Linked DNA regions of Homo sapiens: all the other regions are linked to region 2. The links are contacts of gene promoters, found by promoter capture Hi-C in blood cells and fetal thymus (Javierre and others, 2016). All regions are on one chromosome and are shown on one strand. Each heading gives the region's core, a stretch centred on a gene start or on the middle of the fragment in contact. The rest is flanking DNA. Distances are from core to core; before and after follow the strand shown.

Region 1 (3,365 bases), core at 418-2,917, 3.7 Mb after region 2:
AAATTTACTGATCTCCACATGCCCGGCCCCCAACCTCCCTGAATAACCTTTCCTCTCTCACCTATCTGTTCTCAACTTAGGGAGTTTTCTCTCTCCAACGAAGTCTTTCCACTTACCACCCGGTTCACATCCTCCACCATACTCTGATATCATTATTAATAAATGTTACTGACTGGATGTGTACAATGTTCATTTTGCATGTTTATATCATAGAACCATCACAACAACCTTGAGAGAGGCAGCTCTTACTCCTATTTTAGAGGTTAACTGAGGCTTTTAGAGATTTTGGCAACTTACCTGAGGTCACATTGCTAGTACGCAGAAGTATCTGATTCAAAATCAGACTGACTTTAAAGTCTAACAGAAGTGATTCCCAACGTGTGAGACCCTGGTACTACAGCACAGAGCTACAAAAGGGGGCAAGAAAGAGAATTTTACCCCAACCCTCACTTAGTGCAAGTGGCCATGACCTCCCTGAAACCCTCTTCTGTCTAACAATGAAATCAGCTTGCCACATCCTGCCTATAGAAGCAGCTGCAACAGACCAACTCTTGAAGGGACTGCTAAGGCTGCTCAGGCTGGTGCTTCCTAGCCCTGAGAAAGCAAAGCTGTGTATTAATATGATTCTTACAGTTCCCCTTGCACACACCTGCCACTGACCTCCATTCTCCTCCCCACAACACACACACATACAACCCCTCCTGTGCCTGCACTGGGTGGGTTGCTAACCTGGGGCTGGAGGGAAAGTGGCTTCCGAATCCAAAGCTTTTATGGATGGGCAAGTAGCTTAGCAGGCAGTAGAGGGAATGTATGTTAGATGACTCTAGAAAACAGCGGCCAGGTGCCACACTCCAGGCCTTTTCCCAAGATTCACAGTTAGTCTGAAGCGGCTCCATTTACTGGTCTTCCAGGTGAGAAGAAGTGCAAGTACCTCAGTAGCCAGCAGAACTGGAGACATACAAGGTCAGTGACCTGCAAATTTGCTAGTGCACCACTGATATCATTTTGAAAAAAAACACATTTTAAGTTGACATTAAAATCTCACCATATGTTTAAAGGATGCAATTTCCAGCATACTGTAAAAATTGACATTTTAAAATACAAATTATACTGCCTTTAGTATGTGCCCAGTGGAAACTAAATATCATAATGATTTTGATACCCATCATCATCCATTTAAAAATTCATAGACTGACTCATCTTTAACAGGTGGAAATTTTATGCTGCTCGTTTTCCTCTTTTATTTACATTCTACTTCATATAACTTCATCTTAATATATTTTCATGCTTGAAATCTTTTTATCACCCTATCATGCTTCTCTAGCCCCCACATATACACATGTGTATGTACTAAATTTGTTTTTCCTGTGGTCTTAAATCTCTAAGTGTTAAAATGGTAACTTCTGGATTCAGGGATCAATAATATTATTAGTACAAAACCGATCAAAACAACTTATAAAAGTAAAAATTGGTAAGAAATGGATACTTAATGAAATGAGCTTTTGTTTCCATATATCCATAAATGAATATTACTTCTTACTATAATAAAATCAGTCAGGATTCAACATCATTTTTATGCCTATTTTGTGTTTTTTATAAAAGCTGAGAAAAACCTTCAGTTAAATAAGTGGATGAGAATTAAATATATTTTGTTATAGCAATGTTTCTTACTTTGAATTCTTTTGGAGTTATATCCCCAAATCACTTAGCAACCTATCATCAAAAATGTCTTAAATGAATTGATAGCTGACATCTCAATCAAGGCTCCTTTACTTTTGTTGAAAGCAAAACTTGGAAACCACCTGACTTGTCAGAGAATCTGTTAGTCATTTGCTTTCTCACACTGACACTCCAATAGTTTCTGGCATATGGAGGTTTTGAATACCTGGAGGAACATAGCATAGAAGCCAGAATGGTGCAAGTGTGCCTTTCTTTTTGTGAAAAGGGTGAAGGGAAATTGGAGAAAGGCAGGTTGGGAAAGGAGAATATGTGCCCCCTTATGTACAGAGGGGCAGAGTAATTTTCTGAAAGAGAATACATGAAAGTTGAGGATGTGAAAACTGACTGCGGTCACTTGCCTGAGCCTACATACCCCCTTGAAAAGTCTTTCTATTTCTCACTCATTGTTGCTCCTCCCTCCAACATGCTAAGTCTGTTTTGTCTTCTTTTTTTTAGAGACAAGGTCTCACTCTGTCACCCAGGCTGGCGTACAGCTGTGCGATCATGGCTCAGTGAAGCCTCGACCTCCTGGACTCAAGCGATCCTCCTACCTCAGTCTCCCAAGTAGTTGCGCCTACAGGCACGCACCACCACACCCAGCTAATTGCTTATTTTTTCTAGAGATGAGGTCTTGCTATATTGCCCATGCTGGTCTTGAACTCTTGTCCTCAAGCAATCTTCCCGCCCTCAAGCAAATCTCCTGCCTTGGCCTCCCAAAGTGCTGGAATTACAGGTGTGAGCCATCGTATATTATCTTCTTGTCAACATTCATTCATTCTCTAAAAATACACCGTCTGTCAACTATAGGCTAGGCACATCTATTTACTGATAATGATATAAAATAAGCTTAAATTCCTAAGAAACAAAAGAAAAATAAATTCCTAAGAAACAAAAGAAAAATTCCTAAGAAACAAAAGAAAAATATTAAAACTGACCAAAAAAAAATTAAGTAAAACTAGACAGATGGTACACAAGAATAACTGAATTTTGAGAAACAGTTAATGAAGCTAAACTAATATATCACACTGTGTGTCACCCTGCCTGCTTACCCATTTCCCTAACTCATTTATATGGGAGCCTTGACTTATTTTTCTCCTTGGCTAAGTGCCTGGGGCCTAAATCCTGGAGTAAATGAATAAAATTGGAGTTCTGATTCAAGGCTCTCTGAACTACTTACTATTTTAACAAAATTAAAGCATTAAAAAATTAAAAGCTAGTTAAGTTAAAATTTTGCAAAACTGTATAATGTATCATTTCGATAATGTTTATTATTTGATAGTATAATTTTCATTCAACTTTTCTGTGACTTTATTCTTTTTTCCTACTACTCTACTCTCCACCCTACCTTCCGTCCTAGTGACGAAGATGAAAAATATCATTTAATCTAGAAATTGTTAAACACAATTAATATAACCCTGTAGATTACAGAACCTATTTAAATTTCCATAGCTAAAAAAGAGAAATTCCTTGATTTAGTGCTATTATTATCCACTAGAGGGTGCTCATTCAACTCTTTTAAAAGTTAGAAATGAAAAACAAATCAATTTATGGAAATGCACCAAAGTATGTTTTTGAGTCATTTTATTTTTACTCCTCAGAGATGCTAACGAAGAGCTGATGGCTTCCTATTCTATTTTGGCAATGGA
Region 2 (3,207 bases), core at 242-2,741:
AACATATTGATATAAATGCTTATATCTTGTTCTCCATTTCATAATTTAGAACTTATGTTTTAAAAACGACAACTTCTCACATTTTCCCCCCTTTAAGCATCTACTATAAAGCACTGAGTGTTTAAAGCCTGATGCTTGAATATTCGTTTTTCACAGTACCTTGTATTGTGACTTTCCATCACTTTTCCATGGATTATCACTTGATACTTGTTAATGAAATATTTTGGGACACACAATTTAGAAGAGCAGGCAGTTTTTCTAAAAGAGGTAATCACATTTATTGAAATTGCTTTATAAACAACTATCATAGAGCCTTTAAACTTCTACGTTTCAAGTAGTTATAATTTTCCTTCCATAAGTTGACTTTCTGCATGCATAAATAAAAGATAATTGAAGCCAGTCAATATTTGTTAATCGTGTCTTAAGTGTGCAGCGAGAGACACAACTGTTTTCTGCAGCTTCCTACTCTGATAGCCATGATTCTCAACCCTGGCTGCACTCTGAAATCAATTGCTGAATCCGAATTTTTGAAAATAAGATCAGGGCATCTGTAGTTTTAAAAGCTACCCAGTGTTTCTGATGTGAAGTTACTATTGAGAACTACTGGCTTTCAGAATAAAGCCAGTAGTTTCAAACTTCCAAGCACAGCTTTTAAGGTTGTCCACAATCTGGCTCCAATCTTCCTTTCTTGTTTCTTATCTTACTGTAACCCTCTCTTTGCACACCAGCCAAATTCTCTTGGTTATTGTCTGACAGACTGTTTCCTAAAGGATTACATATTGCCAGAGAAGTCCAGAAGAATTAGGATGTTATCCACAGTTAACAGCTTAGAGGGTAAGCTGCAGAGACAGAGTGGTAGCCCAGAGAAAACACCACGAATGATACTTAGTAAACTCTGTAAAGTGTTTGTTGATTGAAATGTTGCCTACTTTTATTACCCCAAATAAACATTCTTATTCGGCTTTCAGTTTTTTATGATATAATTTAAATTACACTTACACACACACACACACACACACACACACACACACACACACCCCCAATACACGGGTCTAAGTTGAGCATTGTTAAAACCCATCAACCAAACATACGTCCAAACCAGTTTAGTAAGTTTTCTAGGGCCTCTATAACTCACCTTCTTTTCTACTTCTCATACATTAGCAACAACTACACGCGTGGAGTGAAAAACATGGGAAAGACCAAAGAGGAATTCTAAAACTGACGGGGACAGAGGGTGGCGCTGGCTTTAAAAACCGGCGTTGAGGAGATACCTGGTTTTTGAGGTTAGTCCGGAGGGCGCAGGAGCTGGCAACAGGAATGGACGCACTCGTATCGGTCTCCGGGATGGAAATCTGGTGCGAGGGTCCCTCAGCCTTCTTCTCGATGCCTACATGGGAAGGATGCCTGGTAATGAGCAAAGCCGTCTCTAGAAGTTGGGAAAACCGGCAGCCTCTGCAGCAGTCTGTGCATCAGTCGCTGAGCAGGCGCCTTGGCAGGCACCGTTCCCTTGGCAACAGGAGCTTCTTCCGGTCCTGAAGCCACGCCTCCCCGGGGGTCCTGGCGATTCAGCCGTTGTGCTATAGCTTCTGGGATTGAAGAGCTCCGGGAAAAGGTCAGAGGCGCGCCGAGGAACTATACATTGAAGAAAAATGTGTGCACAGGTGGCAGGGTGAGCTGCCTATTTCCTGCGAGGAGCCGGGCAGTTCCCGGCGTAGCATCATGGGAGTTGTAGGCTCGCGCACAGCTTTCTGGGAAGCGTTTGGCGTTCGCGTGTGCTGCGTGTTTGTCGCTCGGCCCTGGTCTTCCTGGGGATCCAAGAGGCTGGCGCTGGGTGTGGCGCGGAGAGTGTCGTTACCGGGCACCAGCGTAGCGTTGTGGCAACGACTGCAAGACGATACTGTCCCCCCTGGGGCAAGATGTGCGCCGGAGTTCCCCAGTTGCCCATCGCACCGACTCTTCTCTGGGTTCTGATAGGCCTCCCACCCTGAGTCCCTGTAGAGGTAAAACTGTTAATACAGGAAGGTAGAGGGGAGAACTGGTGTAAAAAGTCAAAAGGTGTTATTCGGCTAATAAAGTATGCCTGTACCCCTGCTTCTTAGTTGTGTGGTCTCCCGAAGAGATTTCTACCAGGCATAATCTCCTGTGAGTAGATTACAGTCTCCAGAATCAAATCGGCAGGTGGTCAGGAAAGGTATTAATAGTCAATACTTAAAGTTGACCACCTTCTTAAATTGCACTTGGATTTTATAGTCATAGTCACAAATGGTCTTCAAATAGAAAATATTTAGGCATACCCTTCCCCACATCTTTTATTACTGCGTTTTCCAACGGACACATTACAGATGCAGTCATTTTAAAGATCTAGCCTTTCAATCTGCCCAACTCCACTAACCTCACCCCCAGCGAATGGCCTCATTCTTCAAATAGGGGTTTGTATCTCTTCATTTTTTTTGTTTGCATGGGTGTAGGATTTCCGACCCCCTGCCCCCCACCGCGCGACCCTTTTCAACTAGCTAGTGTATGTTTACTGCACTGCCTGTTCTTTGGCCTGTCAATTCATTTGGCCTATTAAATGGACTAGGAGGGTGCAAAAAGAGACTAGAAGGAATTATTTCAAAGTAATATGGTAGGGGGGACGGTTGTAAGCGTGTGATTATGGGGTGATTTATCTTTTGTCACTTCTCCAAATTTCCAAATGTAATTGTCATTTTTACAGCGAAAAAACAAAAGCGGCTCTGGATTAGTGATTCTTGTTGAAAGACAAAAACAAAACAAAGACCCTATGGATGCATATCAACATATAAATGTCCTTGTAAAAATGGAGTATGGAAATACATTCTTTCTTACTGTGTGGTCTTAGCCCAATTTACCCTTCTCCGTGCTTCTATCCTCACCTTCAAAAATATAGTATTTATCTTATCTGGTAGTTCTGAGTATTAAAGATAACAGAAATACAGATGTTTGGCACATATTTATTGTTCAATAAATAATGTCCTGTCTTCTTTTGTCTTGAGCTTTTTATTGTGTAAACAAAATTGACCCAAACCGTAACTATGGTGGTTCTTTAACTTCTGAACTTCTAATCGTGAATGCATTGACAGGGAGGTGTTGAACACTTTTCTGTGTGCCTGGGTGTTGTGACTTACTTGTAAGAGATGGAAGCTAATGTGCTTGCGGCCAAAATATAACATTTTTTTTTCTTAGCGA
Region 3 (3,154 bases), core at 69-2,568, 3.5 Mb after region 2:
ACTGGATTAACATGGGGCAACACCTAGCCCTGCAGCTGCTCCAACCTACCCTCAGTTGTCCTTCAGGTTCTCTGTCTTCTTGGCCCATGTGTGTGTTAAGCTCTATGACAAAGGGCATCAATTTCTCCTGCAGGCCACCAGCACCATTGAAGTTGGAGGCAGAGTGAGACCAGGGTTTCAATCCATCCTCTTGGACTGCAGCTTGAGCCAATGGGTTACAGTTTTCCTTTCTCTCCCCACTCCAAATCTGTCTTCTTTTCTTGAAAGTCCTGCAGACTTTAAGCTCCAGAAAAGATGCAAAGGCAACAGCCTTGCAGAGGCTGATTAACCATCTCCCATGATTGCATAAGGTACAATCTGTATAAAAAAATCTTAGTGGTTCTGCTTCTCTGATCCTACCCTGACTGTTAAAAGAAAAAAAAAAAAAAGCTAGTTAAAAGATAGCTAGTATGGGTCTCAAATTCTTCAAGCCCATGTGACAAGCATACTTCTCTGTAGACAGAACTAACTGAGAATGAAATAATAACCAGAAGTTTGCTTAAAAAACTTAGAAACAGAACCGAACATTAATTAAGTGAATGAAACATGTAATGTAAAATAGATGTCTTCATATAGCATCTTCTTGCCAGTTTACTGTAATCTAAGACTCTCTTCTCTGAACTATGTTAAGATAGACTTTTCCAAAGTGTGCCTCTATACCCTTTTCAATATGGCCAAGAGTGAATGACCAATGTCTGATTGATACTTTTTTCCTTTGATGCATTAATCATTCAATCATAGTTCAATCTACATTGTTTTTTGTTTTGTTTTGTTTTTGTTTTGGTCAGCATGAGATGACTTTGTGTATCTCTTTTCTCATGTCTTATAACCCAAATACTGACCAAAAAATACAGGAGATCACATTTCTTCCCCACAGTTGAGAAGCTTTACTTCATTTCTTAGGTTCTGCAAGTTAGAGATAAACTTAACTTCTCAAGCAATCTTTTTTATGAGGCAAATACCCTGTGGAGGCTAGCAGACTTTTTCATCTTAGTATGAATTAACTCCATCTGCTTGCTTTCTTCTTGCTGTGGTCAGCTGTGCTAAAAGAATCGGTTTTTTTAGCAGAGTGTTAGGAAGGCAGAAAAATTGTTTTAGAATGCAGGGATCTTTGAGGGAAGAGGAACCCAGTTGAATCATCACAGGAGAAAGTGGGCAGACTCATGCAGTCTAATGGTTCAGGGCTTCTGAGAAGCAGGAGAGGGAACATGCTCAGGATATGTTTTCTGACTCTAAATTCTGAAGTCATAAGTACTTCAGTAGATGATCTAGATTCTTCCATAGATTCTTTCAAGTCTCAGACCTTGATTGAGAAAATTAGATGGTGAGTTGTAGTTCAAAGGCTAAGTACATGAACAGCTCTCTCCCCAGTCAGACATCAATACCATCTTCATCTATGGTTCTCATTAGATGTCCTTTGAAAGGCTTTGACACATATGTGTGGCATCCGATATCTTGATAATTGCAAAATAATCAAGCTGCGAGCAGTAATTATTGACAATATAGAAGAATCATTGTATTTTTGCTGTTGTTGTTGTTAACTTGAATACAACCTCCAAATTAAGTGCCAAATGCAAGCCAAATGTGAAGTTCTTCTCTCTATCAGAACTCCAAATATTGGTGTTTATTTGATTCTTAAAAATAGTATTTTCAGCCTTAAAAAGAAAGCTTGGAATTATTGGAATAAAAATGAAGGAGTGTATATAACCGTATTTTATAAAATTTCACTTTCAAGCAAACTTTATGAGGCATTTTATTTTGTATAGAAACTTTGAAATAGCCTAAAGGCTTTCTTTGACCAGCTGCATATTCTATCTCTTAAATGTCTTCGGAGTGAAAAGATTCCCTCAGCAGAGGCACCTGCAGGATGTGCAACGATTCATTTTTACTCTGAATATCAGTTCTGTGGAAGCATCAGCTCTACTGGCTCATCATTTACATTCACAATGGACATCTGGAGCCAGAAAAATGAAACATTAGACTTGTTTGTGTTGTCAAATTAAAAGGGAAAAAGAGAATGGTTTAAAGTTCTGAGAGTCTCTGTAACATTTAATTATGCTTTCGACTGCAGTCCAATCAAAAATATGCTTTTGCAGGAAAATGGGCACCAAGAAAAAACATGCTTTGCTATTCAGATTGTTGCTAGGTCAACCTCTCAAATCACAAGCTTGGAGAAAAGCAGCCACCACAATGAGTATAGAGTCTTTCCTCTGAAGAAGCCGAACAGCTCCACCAATATCCTCAATAGGACTCTTTCCTTACATTCCCAGGGGATGACATTATTCATTTTTTTCCTGACTGAAGCACTGTGAAGCCAACGGCATTTAAGAAGTTAACTAGATCTGGAAGATTGTGTTGCCAATATATGTACCATCCAGCTCCCATAAGATAAATTCAAATCCAAAATATATGACTGGATACCTAGTTGATAGAGGAATGGTATACAGTGCAAAGAATAATATTTTGATGATATTCTTATGGAAATTTTTGTTTTAGAAATTTTTTACATAAGAATTTTAGTAATTTTCAAAATCACTGCTCAGAAAGAAAAGGGCTTTGCTGTTTTTAAAAAAAAAAAAAAGTGTGGTCAGGCCAAGTGTGGTGGCTCACACATATAATCACAGCACTTTGGGAGGCCAAGGTGGGAGGATCACATATGGCCAGGATTTTGAGCTCAGCCTGGGCAACATCGTGAGTCCCTGTCATTATCGTAAAAGAAAAAAAAAATGGGGGCATTATTAACAACTGCTGCTTTCTAATGACTCTTATACTGATTATTCCTGGTGAAATTGTTTCAGATATTGGGCTATTTCTAGCCTAATTCAATCTGATTCAAATTAATTTAATCATTTGCTGAAGGTCTGACAAGAAAAACTTCAATAGGCAGATGATGGCATTGGCGAAAAAAAAACTGTTTTTCTTTTCTATCTTATCCAGCCATTACATCAACATTTATTGAGCCTTTACTGTGTTTACTGCACCACATTAAATAACAGGGAAAATTCAAAATGGAGTTTACAACCTCACTAGAAAGAAGGAACACAATAAATGGAAACAAGAAGACAATGATTTCTAAAACTCATATTTCACAGGGAAGTTTTGTGCAAATTAGTGA
Region 4 (3,176 bases), core at 475-2,974, 3.7 Mb after region 2:
TGTGCACAGTACTCCAACTGTACACCATAGAACTCATTGTCATATATTCTACAGTAAGCTGAAGAATTGTCCTCTCTGTATAGTAGAATCCTCACAAAGGCAGAATGTACATCTTATTCATCTTGTTATTACCAATGTTTTAACAAACAAAATACTTGTATGTTAAATGAGTTCAACAGAAAAAATATGTCATATGAAAAATTGGTATTTTTTCTTCATATGTATGTGTGTACATATAAATATACACAGTAACATTAGTTTTCTAACAACATAGTGAATATTTATATTGACAATGTATTCTAACGTACACAAGTTCACTAAGAGTTGTGTAATAAAGAAATAAATCTACTGTAGTCAATATAAACATCACGATGTCAAGTCAGTAAACTAAACAGAGAGATGAGATTTCACTGAAAATACCACTTCAGTAATTCTGATGGAGTCTAAGGACAAACTTTTCTGTCTTTAAAAAAAAAAAAATTCATGAATTTTCACTAACGATTATCAAGAAATATTTCAATACTGACCTAAATAGAATTCTGGGGGAAAAAAGCAAATAGCACATTTATATTTAAGTACCTTTTAAACAAAAATATTTAAACTGGTTTGATATAATTTCAAATTATATGGTAATGCTTTTCTAAAGAGTAAACTTCTGAGTTTTTTCCTAGTAAGTGAAACCAAGTTCTAGACTAGGTAAACACAGAGCTGTCCAAAAAGGAATTGGATGTTCTTAACAAACAAGTTTATTGAACTACATTTATCTATAATTCTTTTGCATTCTAGAAATATTTTACTGAAGGGACCTAGACTGATGGTCTGTAATCAGAACTTCTCCTTGTTTTATAAGGCAGTTCTCTACTTCTCCTAAATATCCTTCCTCTAGTTTTTGCATCCTAGAATTCTAATGCCATAAACTATCTAGACTATAGCGTATGTTATATTCAAAGAAAACTGTTCTCTTAATTCAATAAAAATGTTAGTAACTTTCTACTTAGTCGAACTTTATTAGGTTTACTGATTTGATCTCTGATTTTATAAACTGTGTTGATCTTTACTTCACTTTAATGTTCAGCAGCTGGTTGTCTTATTAGGAGTAGAGAGAAAAAATTATGTGCCATTATCATTGAGTATATTGAGCATATACAGGAAACTACAGCTTTTAACACTTAAGTTATAAATTCTAATGTCTCATAGTTAAATTATTTTAAAACATTTCCTTTTTATTATAACTCCTTGTATAAATATATCATGGATAATAAACACAAGCTATGATTCTTTTTACCTCTGTATTCTAAGGTAAACACCAAATTAAATGATATAGATGTAAAGCATACTTAAGAATAAAAAATTAAATAAAATGAAAAAAGACGTATAATGAAAAAGGATAGCTGTGGATTTGACAAGCTTCTAAAACTAAAACATAAGTTTGTTGAAATTATAAGGCTAAAGAAAAGTGAATGTGACATGTACAGATGATATCTGAAAACCAATCCTTTTGCATTACCATTATGATGTGTTTCACCAAGAGGCTCAAGTTTTGGAAGTCTAGTGACTTTAGGGGTTCCCCAGCCAACTAAAGAAAAAGAAAAACATTTAAAAAACACTGTTAAACAAGGTTTCTTTAGGTCTGTTGAGAGGATCCCTCCCTGGAAAGGAAGCATATGTAACATTCAATGTCAATTCAAATATATTGAATGACAGTATGGAAAGCCAGAAACCCATTTTAAATGGCTTCTATATTTTAAAATGTAATTATAGGCTGCTAACATCTGCTTTAACTTTTCAGTAGCTTTTAATAAAAACTATAAGCACCTTCACCACTATCAAAAACAAACTCATGCTATCATTCTAACTCTAGGCAGAAACTAAATATTTTCTTAATAAATGGAATACTGGAAATGAGTCTATAAGAGATTCTTAAAATGTTACCAAATAATTTCTAAAGCCTTGTAGCAGGGCTATAAGGGCACTATACACATATTTATCTAGTCATTACATATTTACTGACCACCTATAGTAGGTGAGGTGCTAAGCTTAGTGCTGAAAAGTTACTCAAAATTATTGTGCAAGTTAAGTCCCAGTGTTTTATATGCATTACTCCATTTAATCCTCGTAACAACTTAGGACATGGGTATGTATATTGAAAATGTATTAGAAAAAATTAATACATCTTGGTTTCAAACATTAACTTTCAGGATGAAAGGTCCAATTTTTTTTTTTTTTTTTTTTTCCCGAGATGGAGTCTCACCCTGTCACCCAGGCTGGAGTGCAATGGAGTGATCTTGGCTCACTGCAACTTCTCCATCCCAGGTTCAAGCGATTCTCCTGCCCCAGCCTCCTGAGTAGCTGGGATTACAGGCATGTGCTACTACGCCCAGCTAATTTTTTTTTTTTTTTTTTGTATCTTTAGTAGAGACGGGGTTTCACCAAGTTGGCCAGGTTGATCTCGAACTCTTCACCTGGTTATCTGCCCGCCTCGGCCTCACAAAGTGCTGGGATTACAGGTGTCAGCCACCATGCCGAGCCGGTTCAATGTTTTAAAAACTCATGTTAGCCATCCATCGTGAAACTTAAATTAACATGTGGGTACTGATATTTCAAATAGAACTTGAACATATTCTAGGAAATACTGGGTAAAATTTTCTTAATAGTTTTTACTTATTTTTTTCTTTATAAAACATTTTTTTATTCAAAAAAGCAATGGACATTTGTGTTAGCAAATTTTGTCCAAATCAGAGTAAAAGATTCTTCTTCACAAGTATACAAGATAATGAATATACAGAATAAAAATGACAAGATTCCTTTTTTCTTTTTTTTTTTCTCTGTTGTTTAAAGCAATATTTCTAAATTCAGTATCAGTATCAATTTACTCACCAGGAGGAGGGGGTGGGGGTGGCGTTGGACTCTCAGGAGCACAGTCATCTATATTAAGTGGTTCTACCCGGTGGTTCCTTTTCATTCTTAGTTTCTTAGTTTTCTTTTTACCATTAGCTACAAGAATATAAACATGAAACTTCATGTCTTTATGAAAAAGTGCACTTTTATAATAGAAAACAAAGAATACAACAAGAATACTGATATTATTAACAAAAAACATCTTGACTATTTAACTTTGGAAATTGTTACAATAACCAAATGTGTACTTGCATTTACTAAGAATATATTTTTTAAGT

What was found. Contacts are between HindIII fragments. The CHiCAGO score rates a contact against its expected background, and 5 or more counts as called.
Region 1: a contact is called between a fragment that was not itself captured here and the fragment with the promoter of ARL6 in region 2, in 2 of 17 cell types (total B cells and naive B cells). The highest score is 9.6, in total B cells.
Region 3: a contact is called between a fragment that was not itself captured here and the fragment with the promoter of ARL6 in region 2, in 1 of 17 cell types (endothelial precursors). The highest score is 6.0, in endothelial precursors.
Region 4: a contact is called between a fragment that was not itself captured here and the fragment with the promoter of ARL6 in region 2, in 1 of 17 cell types (total B cells). The highest score is 7.8, in total B cells.

What each region holds. Positions count from the first base shown.
Region 1 is chr3:94,069,270-94,072,634 of GRCh38, reverse strand. The region is part of intron 2 of NSUN3 (NOP2/Sun RNA methyltransferase 3); the gene reads right to left. Among named protein-coding and RNA genes, the nearest start is that of NSUN3, 7.9 kb to the right of the region's middle. The HindIII fragment of the contact is 1,800 bases long and covers 768-2,567 here.
Region 2 is chr3:97,763,042-97,766,248 of GRCh38, reverse strand. ARL6 (ARF like GTPase 6) reads right to left here and starts at 1,491. Exons shown (of 8, transcript NM_001278293.3): 1 at 1,272-1,491. RefSeq lists enhancers at 1,334-1,443, 1,159-1,658, 1,484-2,023, 1,659-2,160. The HindIII fragment of the contact is 6,880 bases long and covers 1-3,207 here.
Region 3 is chr3:94,261,792-94,264,945 of GRCh38, reverse strand. No RefSeq gene overlaps it. Among named protein-coding and RNA genes, the nearest start is that of NSUN3, 200 kb to the right of the region's middle. The HindIII fragment of the contact is 783 bases long and covers 927-1,709 here.
Region 4 is chr3:94,049,224-94,052,399 of GRCh38, reverse strand. It overlaps ARL13B (ARF like GTPase 13B), which reads right to left. Exons shown (of 10, transcript NM_001174150.2): 8 at 2,878-2,994; 9 at 1,508-1,576. Among named protein-coding and RNA genes, the nearest start is that of DHFR2, 12 kb to the left of the region's middle. The HindIII fragment of the contact is 629 bases long and covers 1,410-2,038 here.